3 separate regions of the Homo sapiens genome follow, and all the other regions are linked to region 3. Evidence: promoter capture Hi-C in 16 types of primary human blood cells and fetal thymus (Javierre and others, 2016). All regions are on one chromosome and are shown on one strand. Each heading gives the region's core, a stretch centred on a gene start or on the middle of the fragment in contact. The rest is flanking DNA. Distances are from core to core; before and after follow the strand shown. Region 1 has its middle 84 kb from the start of RGS4. Region 2 has its middle 100 kb from the start of CCDC190. Region 3 holds the start of RGS4 (regulator of G protein signaling 4).

The links. Contacts are between HindIII fragments. The CHiCAGO score rates a contact against its expected background, and 5 or more counts as called.
Region 1: a contact is called between a fragment that was not itself captured here and the fragment with the promoter of RGS4 in region 3, in 1 of 17 cell types (endothelial precursors). The highest score is 6.8, in endothelial precursors.
Region 2: a fragment that was not itself captured here is called in contact with the fragment with the promoter of RGS4 in region 3 in 1 of 17 cell types (endothelial precursors); the score reaches 5.2 in endothelial precursors.

What each region holds. Positions count from the first base shown.
Region 1 is chr1:162,982,845-162,987,270 of GRCh38, reverse strand. No RefSeq gene overlaps it. Among named protein-coding and RNA genes, the nearest start is that of RGS4, 84 kb to the left of the region's middle. The HindIII fragment of the contact is 2,407 bases long and covers 1,559-3,965 here.
Region 2 is chr1:162,959,024-162,963,254 of GRCh38, reverse strand. No RefSeq gene overlaps it. Among named protein-coding and RNA genes, the nearest start is that of CCDC190, 100 kb to the right of the region's middle. The HindIII fragment of the contact is 645 bases long and covers 943-1,587 here.
Region 3 is chr1:163,067,356-163,071,552 of GRCh38, reverse strand. RGS4 (regulator of G protein signaling 4) reads right to left here and starts at 2,192. Exons shown (of 5, transcript NM_005613.6): 1 at 2,025-2,192. The coding sequence starts at 2,068. The HindIII fragment of the contact is 6,604 bases long and covers 905-4,197 here.

The DNA of each region.
Region 1 (4,426 bases), core at 1,513-4,012, 85 kb after region 3:
CATACTCACACCATTCAACATCTCCAATCTACATTTGAGTAACTGATTTTCCAAACATCTAAATGCTACAGGGCAGTTCAGTATGGGGTCTATAGGCTTTCAGTAACCCCCTCTTCCCCATACATTCCCTCCCAAGCTAAGCTGCTTCTGTCAGTAGACATGGAAATTTTGCTGTGTAATTGGAAATGTAGAAGGAAATTCTTGTTAGAGAAAGAGGGGCGAGGTAAAGATGGAGAAAGACAGAGGAGATGGTACAGAATCTTTTTCTACATTTCTTCATCCATGAGAATGCATACCTTGACCTCACCATCCCAAATGCTAATATTTGCTGTTTTACAGTTAAGAGATATTACTAGCAGAAAGGAGATACTCTAGCAAGACCTATTCTTATGTTTCCATTTTGCAGGAGGCCGAGAAGAAGGAAGTGATTCCAGAAAGGTATCACCATTCCTCAGTTACGAAACCCAAGTGAGACCACAATATCCTGACTTCCAGTCTAGAGCTATCTGTAATGCAATAAATCTCTTCACAGGAGCATATACACTGGGAACGGGAACTCTCACAGGTAAGAAAATCCTTCAAGCTCCAAATAAATGAAATAGAAAATTTGCATGCTCAATAAGTGACAGGATAATGAAGAAACAGTTGTATTCTGTCTATACTAACACAACTTAGCAGCTTTCCAAAGTGATGGTGAAATGGCGGCAAGGTTCTGGAATAAAAAATGTATATTTTTATAAGACTAAAATATGTCTGGCCGGAACTAAAAAGCAGCATTGCAACTCCCATAAAGAGGGAATTTCATACAAGGTGAGTAGGGTGAAAGTGGGGGTGAAATGACAGATTGTGCGGCCAACTACTTATTTCTACTTGAGGATGGCCTTAACTACTCCCTCTCCAAAACTAAACCTGTTCAGTGTATCAGTAAAGCTAAATTGATCTGAGTTGCTATGGGAACACAGAAAGGAGTTCCTGGAAATGTAATAATAATTGCTGTCATCTAAAAGGGCAGTAGCTTTCTACTTCAATATCCTCCCATATGTCTGCATTAAGCTGACATTAGCAAATGGGTGTCAAAAGTCATTTGCATGCTAATTGCTAGGAGGATAACTTGCAGTGTTGGGTGCTGCTCTACTGAGCTGATTTGCTAAAGGAAAAGTTTTTCATTGTTTTTCCAGATTCAAATTCTTTTTGCATGGTATGGTTTGGCTGCCTGGGAAAGAATCCAAATGTTACCTCTCTCACAAGACACACATCTCAGGGCCCACGTAGGTCAGGGTAAGAGCTACACATTTGCATGTGGTCAGTGTATAGAGCTTGGTTTCTTAAGCTTGACAAACATCTGACAAACATTGGAAACTTCATAAGCATCTTTACTTGGTGAATTATTTGTGTTTTAGAGGAGGTAGTAGGGAAATGGAGTGTTCATGATTTCGAGAGTCAAAGAATGGAATCAGAATCACGAACCTGAAAGATGGCCTAAGGGAATCTGCTGGTTGGTCCCTTGCTACTCAAAGTATGATCCACTCATCAGCAGCACTGGCATAATCTAGAAGCTTGCCAGTGATGCAGAATTTCAGACCCTGCCCTAGACCTAATATATCAGAATCTACACTTTAACAAGATCCCTAGGTGATTTGTTTGCACATTGAAGTTTGAGAAGCATTAGTGTGGTCTAATGCTTTTACAAATAAGATGACTGAAGCCTGGAGAAGAGAAGTGACTTGCTAATGTCTTGTTGAAGATTAATAATAGCACCAGAACAAAACTCCAGTGTCTCTGAGAGTAAGACTTCTGCCATTACTCCACGTAGGCTCTCAGTAGCTGTGGTTGGGGCACGATGTTAGAAGTGGCATCCAAGACTTTCTGACTTTGTCCCTAGTTTTATGCCATCCCAAGCACTGTCCCTTTTCCAATTTCAAATTTGCACGTATTGCTGGCCCTGGTAATGTGCTCAGATTGGCCAATTTGAGTGCCAGTTTTGGGAGTGCTCCATTGTCCTGCAAAAGTAGCTGATGATAGTTGCATTCCAAATGAAAGAATAGATCTCTAGTCTTTACCTTTCCTGTATCCTCTTTCAAGGCCTCCAACAGGGGCAATCAATATGTCTTTGTGAATTACTCCAAAGAGGAATGTTTCTCCCATTTTCTAAAAGCTAGAAGCAAGGTCTTTTTCTGATAATTATAGGAATAAACAAGTGAGAACCAATAGGGAACCCAAAGAAGTATCAGATGCTTCCTTCCTCCCCAGTGCTCATAAAGCAAAGCTCTCCCTAGGCTAGAGCAAGCCTGGGTCCGTGTTCCATGTTTCACATATGAATCAGTGTAGACTGTGATTGTTTTTGCATCTCCCTTAATACCCTTTACTCCACCTCACCCAAAAGATAAGCCTATTAGAAAGTGACGTACATCCTGCTTCCAGATACAAGAGATGCCTGAGAACACAGTAATTTCCTGTAACTCTTAAAGCCTAGGATGAACTTGGCATGCCTCATTTCTACTATCCTACTTCTCACATAAATTTCTGTGTTGACTCTTCTAGGCCCATTAATCTTCACATTATTTTTGGAACATAATTCATTTAATTCCCAATTTCTTATTTTTGTTCTAGCCATTTGTTTCTGACATCTACTGCTGCATAACAAATCACACCCAAAACTTAGTGGCTTAACACAAGAATAGTTTTTATTATCTCTCATGATTTTATGAATTGACTGGGTGTCCAGCTGGACATTTCTTCTCCACATGGAGTCTGCCGGGGCTATAGTTATCTGGGGACGTCACTGGTGGGAACACTTAAGATGGCTCATTCACATGCCTTGGCAGGGCTGGGTTCATCTGGGTTGTTGGTAGGACTGAGTCTCTCTCTTTCTCTCTTAACTTGGCCTCTCTAGATGTTCTCTCTAGTAAGGTAGACTTCTTATATGGCAGCTTAGGGCTCCCAAAACCACAAAAGCACAGTTTCTGCACCTTATTATGGCTTCAGTCCTGAACAGGCACCATATTAACTCCACCATTATTGTTGGTTAAAGTGAGTCACAAGAGAAGCCCAGAGACTACCAACCACAGGATTCTCAAAGAGCTTGCAGGGAAAACCAAATTTCCTTCTTTTTGCTAATCATTGTCTCTTATCTGCTCCAAAACCAGGGGAGTTCTTAATCTAGAAGTCTGTAAGTACATTTCAAGAGAGTCTATCAATATCTAAAAATTGTATTTTTACACATATTTTGAGTCGTAATGCATAGGTGGTGCACTTTTCTAGGTAAAGGATCCCTAGAATTATTGTGCTAAACAATTCTAAAAATGAGATTCTCAAAGGGTGGGTCTATGACCCAAAGAAGGCTGCAACGTTGGAATGAATGAATCACACCTGATTCTACATGCCATCTGCCCAATAATTATGTGTTGTTGTAGGTCTTTTGAAGATACATGATATGTGCTTATAATGCCTCCCACCAACTAGTTTTGAAATTCTGCTAAGGCAAGAGTCATATCTCTTCTTTATCTCAAGACTCCCTAGTTTTTAGCACTGTCTTTTAAATAATATTAATATACGCTGCATAATACATGTAGACTGATTTCCTATGAAGGGTTTATCTGAGTCTTTGTGTAAGAAGAACATAGACACAATAACCATGACTAGCATCATTCTTACCATACATTTTCTCACCCCTTTCAGTTTAAAATGCTTTCATGTGTCTTATTTGATACTTATCTAATATGAGTCTATAAGGTCAGCAGAACAGATGTTATCATGATATTATTTTTTGTGCTAAGGAAACTGAAGTTTGCATAATCTCTCTCAAAGATTTAGAGCTAGTTAGAGAAGGAACTAGGGCTGAAGTCCAATACTTCTGATTTCCACTGACCCTGGCTGTGTAGCATGAGCCACTGCGATGAGAAGGAGTGAGCACAGCGAGATAGATGTGAAAAACCAGAAGAGCAAAAAGAATAAGAATTCAAGCTTTAGCATGCATCAGGATTACTTGGAGGGCCTGTTAAGCTACAGATTGTTGGCCCCACCAACAGAGTTTCTGACTCACTAGGTGGGGACAGAGAGTTTACATTTTTAATAAGTTCCTAGGTAATGCTGATGCTGCTGGTCTGGTCTGGGGACCACATTTTGAGAGCCACTGGTCTAATCTGTAGTCACATATGATAAGAGAAACTTCCCTGAGCCTAGTGCTTCCATTAATATGAATTCATTGATGGTCCGAATATGGTTGTCACTCATTTCTGGTCTGTATTTTTTACACTCAAAAGTGAGTAATTAGAAACTCTCCCTCATCCAAAATGAACACATACCAGCACCCTTACATACCACCCTCTGCTCTGAAATGAAGGAGATCACCCTGGTAGTCAGATGCCACAAAAGTCCTTCACTTTTCATTGCCCTGAGTCAAGAGGAAAGGTCCATAAAGGAAAAG
Region 2 (4,231 bases), core at 16-2,515, 110 kb after region 3:
AAAGAGTTTAATTCATGCAGAGCCAGGTGAATGGGTGGCCAGAGTTTCATGACTCAAATCAGTCTCTCTGAAAATCCAGAGGCTATGTTTTTCACAAATAGTTTGGCAGCCCAGGGAATGGGTACTGCTGATTGGTTGGGGGTGCAATCATAGGGGTGCGGAAAATGGTCCTTATGGGTGCCTGAGTCCACTTCTGGGTGGGGCCATGGGACTAGCTGATGGGTCCAGGTAAAGGCATTGGTCATCAGAAATGCAAAAACCTGAAAAGGACATCTCAAAAGGCCAATAGTGATATTATCTGCAGGAGTAATTGGGGAAGTTGCAAATCTTGTGACTTCCAGAATAAAGTCTGGTAGTCATTTATATCTACATCTTAGCAGAATTCAGGCTCTTCTCATCCTCCCAACCTGGTGGTCTTTCATTAGCTTTTCAAAGTTGGTTAATTTTGAGGACAGGCTTTCATCATTTAAATTATAAACTAAATGTCTCCCCAAGTTAGCTTGGCCAAAGCCCAGGAATGATGAGGAGCAGTTTGGAGCCTAAAAGCAAGAGATGGGTGTTGGTTAGATCAGATTTTTTTCACTGTCATAATTTTCTCACAGTTATCATTTTTGCAAAGGCAGTTTCAATGCTACAATTCCATTTCTTACAATAATGCAGTAGCAGAGACTGGGTTTATCCTCCACATACAACAATAGAAAATGAAGCAGACTATATGAAATAATTATTTTTAAATGCTGAAACATAAGCAGGAAAGGTCTCTTATCTCTAAGAGGAAAACAACTAGAAGCATTTTTGAGGTTGCCATACAGAAAGGAAAAACTCAAAGCCCAGCACTCCTACTAAGTTAAGGAGACAGAGATGGGAGTTCAAGGAGACCAGGTCAGCTAGATTTAATGAAAAAGAATATCATAAATAAGGGAGATGCACAGAAAGAAAGCTTCACAGATCTGTAGAAAAGTCTCCTTGGCACTTTGGTTGAGTACTTATCTCTACATGAGTGAGAAGAAACTTCCCAAGGTTAGGGAAACAGCAATGGAAAAAACAGTCCACTAGATAATTTCCATACGTCACACAGGGCCAGGATTGGTTTATGTTCCCAAAAGCTAGAGTGAAATGACCTCATAAGACAAGTGGCATCCAGTAGTCTTTAGAAGATAGTGGCTTTATTAATAGTGTTAGATTTTCCCTAGAATGATAACAGAAGTGAGGGACTGAGGGAAAGATCTCAATCAATTGAGGTTTATTGAGCCAGCTTAAGGGCATGTCTGGGAAAAATATGAGATGCATCTGTGGCTTTTTTTCTGAAGAGATTTGTCAGGAGGTTTAATATTTATACATTCCCTTAAAGGGTGAGGAGAGGCAAGTAGGAAGATGGGCAAGTAGGCAATAAGGTGAATAGTTACAATCTTGTGGGACTTTAGCTGGTGCCCAGTAAATCTACATTTTACATAAGGTAAGGTAAATGTTTTAAGATTAAAAAAAAAAAAAGGAGTAAAGGAAGAATCAATTATGTAGACATCTCCAGGTGGGTTGAGAAATTATTAATCTTGGTTTGTCTTTGTTCTACCCCTGGGAAGATAAGCTTAAAATCAACATCACCAGTGTGTAATGGAACAGACTTTTGTTTTTGAAGCTAGGCTTAGTTTATAGACCTAAAGTTACTATGTCCTTGGCATGTCCTTTTTTATGGGGGGCAAGCAAAGAATTTACTTATGAATGATCTGTGGGGGCAGTCATTTGTAGATGCCTGAGGCCTTCTATATTTCCATGGGGATCTGGCTGATGCATAATGCTAGTAACAGCTATTGATTTGGAAGAGGGTGTTGCATGACTCAAGCCTCCAGACTTAATCTTTCCGTTGGCATAAAGAGTTTGAGGAGCCTGAGATTTTGCATTTTTCTTTGCAAGACCAAAGGCAACTCTGGAAATGCTCTAACAAAGGTTAGAAGTAACTTTGAAAAAATACAACTGACTCCAGGTAACGTAAACAAATGCCATTACACATTCCAACTCTATTTAAAAGAATACAACAAAATTCAGCACATAGTGACATAAAATTCACAATGTCCAGCATCCAGTAAAAAGTTGCCAGACATATAAAAGAAAAATGTGACCCATAAGCAAAGAAAAAATAATCAATTACAAGAAACATAAATGACAGAATTGATGGAATTAACAATCAAAGACATTGAAACAGCTATTTTAAATATACTCTATGAAGGGGTGGCAAACTTTCTGCAAAGGTCACATTATTGGATAAAGGACAGATATTATTAGATTTGAAAGTTATGTGGTATCTATCAGAACTGTCCAACTTTGCCACCGTAATGCAAAAGCAGCCATTGACCAGGCACGAATATCCACACCAAAAACTGCAAACAACCCAATCATTGATGAGTGATTGGATAAATAACTGTGGTATATCCATGCAGTGGAATACTCCTCAACAATAAAAATAAAGAAACCACTTAAATACATAACAAAAGTCATGAATCTCAAAGCATTATGCTAAGTGAAAAAAAGCTAGTTTCAAAATGTTACATAGTATATAATTGCCTTTATGTAGAATTTTAGAAAAGGCAAAACTCTAGTGACAGAAAGTATACCTGTGGTTGTCAAGGATTAGGGATGAGAGGAGAGGATTGACTCCAAAGAGGCATGAGGGAACATTTTGGAATGATGGAAATGTTCTATATCATGACTGGTGATAATTACAAAGTTGTTTAAATTTTTTGAAATTCCTTAAACTGCATATTTAAAAGGTATATATTTATAAAGTAGATTTTAAAGGAACTAAGTATAAAAATGGAAATTAACCATTCGAGAATTGAAGTACAAAGTTGGGCTTTACAGTTGAATTAAAAAAACACAATGGACATAAGCTAGAAGATAATATAATGAAACTCTCCCCCCAAAACTGCATAACACTCAAAGACTAGAAAGTATGGTAGAATCAGGAAATGTTCAGTATAGACCTAAAAATTCCACCTTATTTCAGAAGGTGCTAACAGAGAAAAGAGAGAACAGGAAATGATACTGTAATTCTGATCGTGTATCTTATTATTTTGATTAGCTTCTTCCTTTAAATAACGAAAGGCTGAATAAGAAAACTTAAAAGACTCGGCTGGGTGCAGTGGCTCATGCCTGTAATCCCAGCACTTCGGGAGGCCGACACTGGTGGATCACGAGGTCAGGAGATCGTAGCCATCCTGGCCAACACGGTGAAACCCCGTCTCTACTAAAAATACAAAAAGAAATTAGCTGGGCGTGGTGGCGGGAGCCTGTAGTCCCAGCTACTTGGGAGGCTGAGGCAGGAGAATGGCGTGAACCCGGGAGGTGGAGCTTGCAGTGAGCAGAGATCGCGCCACTGTACTCCAGCCTGGGCAACAGAGCAAGACTCCATCTCAAAAAAGAAAAAAAAAACAAAAAAAAAAAACTTAAAAGACTCTAGGCTGACCCAGGCCTACAAAAAAACAAAAGGAAGAAAGAAAACTTAAAAAACAAGACATATACTAGTGGGAACATTTGCAAAGTATGTGACAATGGATCTGCATTTAGAATAAAGAGCAAACTAAAATGCATGAGAAAAAAATACATAAATTGATTAAAAAAGAGAAAAGGAAATGAGCAATTTACTGAATAAGTAATATAAATGACAAATATATGAGAAGATGCTGACTTTCAAAAGTGATGAGAAAAAGGCTAATTAAGATATAATTTTGCCATCATATTTACAAATATTTAAAAAATAAAATCAAATGACATCAAAAGTCAAGAGTTGAGATTTTGAGAAAATGGCATGGCTAGAAACTGCTTATGCAATATTGTTTTATTCAAGCTACAACTTAGTACTATTTATCAAAGATTAAGATGAAAATCTTATGATCCATCAAGTTACTTCTAGTAATTTGGTCTAAAGAATTTTTTTATCTATAGACACACAAGTACAATGATGATTGCATATAATAGCAAAGAGTTGTAAACAACATAAATGTCTAACAGGGAAGATTCAACTCCATTCTACAGAATCTTATTCAGATAGAAAAAATAACTGGGGTAGATCATCATGTAGTGACATGGAAAGATCTTCAAGATGTATTATTAAATATAAAAATCACATATATGGATATTATACAAACATACATATATGGTCATATTATTTTTCAATTGTATTTTCAAATGTGTATGTAAATGTATGTATTTGAATATTAATGTAGAGGCAGTCCGG
Region 3 (4,197 bases), core at 943-3,442:
GACTAACTAGAAAAAGGGGGTCTTTTAATAAGCCTTAAGCTCAACTCTCTTACTTTTTATTAAATATCCTCTTGCTTGCATCTCTTTTTATTAAAAAAGTCAAGAAATAGTTTAAAAAGAGAAATACCATTTTAAAAGAAATGAATAACTAAATGTGTCTATTTGGAGTAGGGAAAATAAAGCCTCAAAGATATAAAGACATTTAGGATGGCCACTAATACATTTATGTATGTAGGTTTTCCCAGAAAGTTTGAATTCCATTATGTTCTCTGACTGTCCCTTAAATAGTATTTTCTCTTCCTCGCAAGATTACTTTCCCTCCTCTGCTTCCCTGACTGATGACTGTTCAGGGGATGCAACATCCTTTTTGATTATAACAAGATACAATCCTGAATGTTAGGGTGATTCCAAGGTGATAATGTAAATATATCATGAAGTCCAAATAGAAACGAATTCATATTTCTATGTGCTGGATCCACCTGAGATCCTAGAGTTATTAATCAATGCAGGGGGTAAGTGTGCTTAGCAAGTATTCTTATAATAAAACCATAAAAATAAAAAACAAAATGACTTCAGAAGTTACTGGAGTCAGGAATTCTAGATTTGGTCCTAACTCACCCACCACCTATGTGACCTTGAGAAGGCAATGGCTCCTCTGGAGCCTCAGGCACTGGTGGTAAAGATGTTGGACTAGATGATTTGCAATTTATTGAGGAGGAAAGGGAAGAGCAGTTCATCCTGCTGACATAGAGTTTACCTCCTTAGATTAGCTGCTTAACTCTTTGAGGACAGAGCTCTAGTATTATCTTTTATCTGTTTTGCAAAATATTTACCAGAGCATAACTTTCTCCTGACACTCTTGTATTTTTGTACGGTTCATTTCATATGCAAGTTAAGTGAAGCTTGAAGTAATTTGCTCCACTCCATTCAGAAAATTAAGCGTGAAGGTCAGAGGAACTTATTTCATAGATACTCTCTGCCAGACCCTCCTGCTTCATTTTAAAGAAGCCATCGATACTTCCATACTCCTGAATGACAGAATATTTGGAAAGTAAATGTTTTAATAGTACATAAAAAATTATGTTTTCTGAGATTATTTCCAAAATAAAATTTGTGGTAATTTCTATTTGCAGTGCGATAAGAAAGCAGGTAGTATACCTTTAGGTTGACTTTTTACCTTTGACTGCAAGATTAAGTAATGTAATATGCACTCATTTTGTGTTTAATTTTCAACTGGCTAATATATGATCTTTCTCTGAATGCATTTCTTTATACCTTTTTTGAACAAACCAAAAACAAATGAATAGCTGTATGTCTGTAAGGTCTTTTAAAAAAATCAAGGGAGTATATTAACAAAACAATGTCTTTAAGATGAGATCTTCTACAAAACTATTAACTGATTTGTAATGATCAATATTTCTCAACCAAACTCATATGAGACACTTCAAGAACTAGAGATGGGGCAGAGAGATAAGGAAGATCTGGCTTTAAAACTCATATCTCATTGTAACATTTGCTTATAAGAACATAGAGAGTGAAAGTTACTGCACCACCACACGGAAAGCATAGTGCCTTTCTGATGATGGAGCCAAACCTCATTCTGGGGTACCTTTCCTGAAACAAGTTGTAGCATACAATCAGAAAGCCCAGAGCCAGGCTTCTATGTACTCCAGGGATGCTCAAATAGCAGTAGTAATCACAGATGGAGATATTACAGATCACTGTACATAGCCTCAAACCTCATCTCGCTTCTTAATTAAAACTAGCTTTCTTAGACCTGGCTTAAAGAATAGAACAGTTCTCAAAACTGAGGTCACACAAAACAACACATAAGGGCTGAAATTTGGGGAGCACATGTCTTAAGTCACAATATCTAGCTAGTCTTGGAGGAAAGTTAGAAAGTCGTGCTCTCCTGACCACACTGTTTCTAATTGCACAGAACTAGGTTAGTAAGTACAACATGTAAATAACTGAGAAAGTCTAGCCAAAAGTTTAATATGGTTAATGGCTGAAAGCAATCTTACCTCCTCAAGCAAGAAGCCGGCAGACCTGCAAGCCCTTTGCACATCTTATTTAACAGCTTGGAATTCGCAAGCAGGAAAGAAATGCGGCAGGAGGAGCTGTGGCTTCGGCTTTGAGCGTACTTTGCCTCTTCTCCGGTAAAGATATTGTCAGAATCCTCTGAGCGTCTTCCTGCTAAGCCTGTAGGGGTCTCTTTTATAGCCCAGCTACGACCGTCCAGCCAATCAGACGACCGCTCTGCAGTACCAGCTCCTCTGTCTCCCTCTGCCTCTCCAGCCCCTGAAAGAGATGAGGAAGAAAAGACTGACGCATCAGCAATGTTAAGTGAACGAGCAGAGAAAATCCTTCTGAAAAGTAGGGATATGGGAAAAAATGTACTCAATGTCTCCACCAATGTCAGAGGTTTAGAATTTCTAGAAAAGGAAAAAAAGTGTACAATGCTGCAAAATATAGTTTTTATTCATATGCCTGTAAAAAAAAAATATCAAGGAAGTTGCTTCCTGGAAGGAAAAGTACCAGCAGGAATTCTGGAGCTTACTTAGGAGCTGACTCCCAATGCCTTTCCTCTTTTGGATTAGAAGCATCATATTATACATGGTCCAAGATCTGATCCTCACGATTTCCAAAAGGGAGCTGGCAGGATCATCGTCTCCACGCAGTGATTTGCGGAAGTTGCCTTGGTTGTTATGCAAACAAGAAGGTGGAGAGAAATAGCTGGATGACAGACAGTTATAAGCCCGGCAGCATACAGAAACTACCCTAGGAAAAATAGATTTGCTATATCTGTAATCAACCTGACTGAGGAATACTTTTCTAGAAATCTTGGTAACAACAGAATTCAGCCTAGCACTGACAGTTTCTCCTTCACATGCCTGCGTCCTGTAAAAAGTCTAAACCGGCAGCTCGAGGACCAAAGGAGGGAGTAGATGAGCAAATATACACAGCAATTCTTATATCAAATGGGTTTATGTCTTATGTAATTCTAAGTCTCCAAACTGATATTTCAAAAGATAAAGAAAGAGAGATGTAGAGAGAAAGAGAGAGAGCAGGCAGAAAAATATGTAGTTTGCTTTGCGTATCACCAGCCTTCAAACTGATTGTAAGAATATTAAGCCCTATAGGTGTTTCTGAACACCTAGACAATCAGTATCTTTTACATACAATATCATGAACTGAAATGCCTGCATGGACAGAATCATTCAGGTGTTTCACATCTTATAGCCATAAACCAAATACCTACACCAGAGTTACAGAGGAAAGCTATAAGTGGAAGAAGGGAATTAATTGCTAGATCTGACCAAAACAGCTTTCATTTAGAAAGCAGATAGGTTCCTGATCATAGGCTACAGTGAGCTATACTTTATATATAAGAAACAGAGGCATCAAATAGTTTAGGTGGAAGAGATGAAAAATAGTTGGGTTCCAGTGAGATGCAAAATACCAAAAATATAGAAAGAATGGCACAAAGCAATGCCCATATGTGGCCCTACCCAATACGTGCCCTTGAACATCCCACACTGCCCCCACTACCAACACGTTCCATGACTAGCAGAGCAAGGAGACAGCAGACAAATGTAAAGTGGTGGAGGGACCATAATCTACAGAAGATGCATTTAAATTATAGGAAAAAGTCTCTAGCCGCCCATAAGAGGGCATTTATTGGATTAGCTACTGGGCAACTTTTCCTTGAATTATAACATAGAACAAATGAATGTTGACAGCCATCCTTGATGGTGGTGTGGAAGGAACTGAAGTGCAATATGAAACTAGGAAGGCCCTCAGACCAAGGAAGATGGACCAGGGAAATGAATCAGTCAGAACTGACATTAAAGAGGTCAGACTAATTAAAAGGGAAAGAAGGTCACTCAAAGAAAGACCATGGCCTTCTTTGTTTACCTGGGCACCTAAAAGAGTGATCACTCAAATAGATTGATTTCAGGAACATAAGTGAGTACCCAAAAAGATTTACTGATGCCTGAAATTCCACAATAAAAGTTTTATGTCTTGCACTTAGAATAAGAGAAGCCTGATTTGTCATGAGTTAAATATAAATCACTGCAATAGATGGGACTTTAAAGACAAAATGGGACTTCAAAGGCAATCTAGCCTAACACTCTCATTTCACCAAAAAGGAAATAGAGACCCAGAAAGAGAAAGTGACTTGCTGAGGTTACA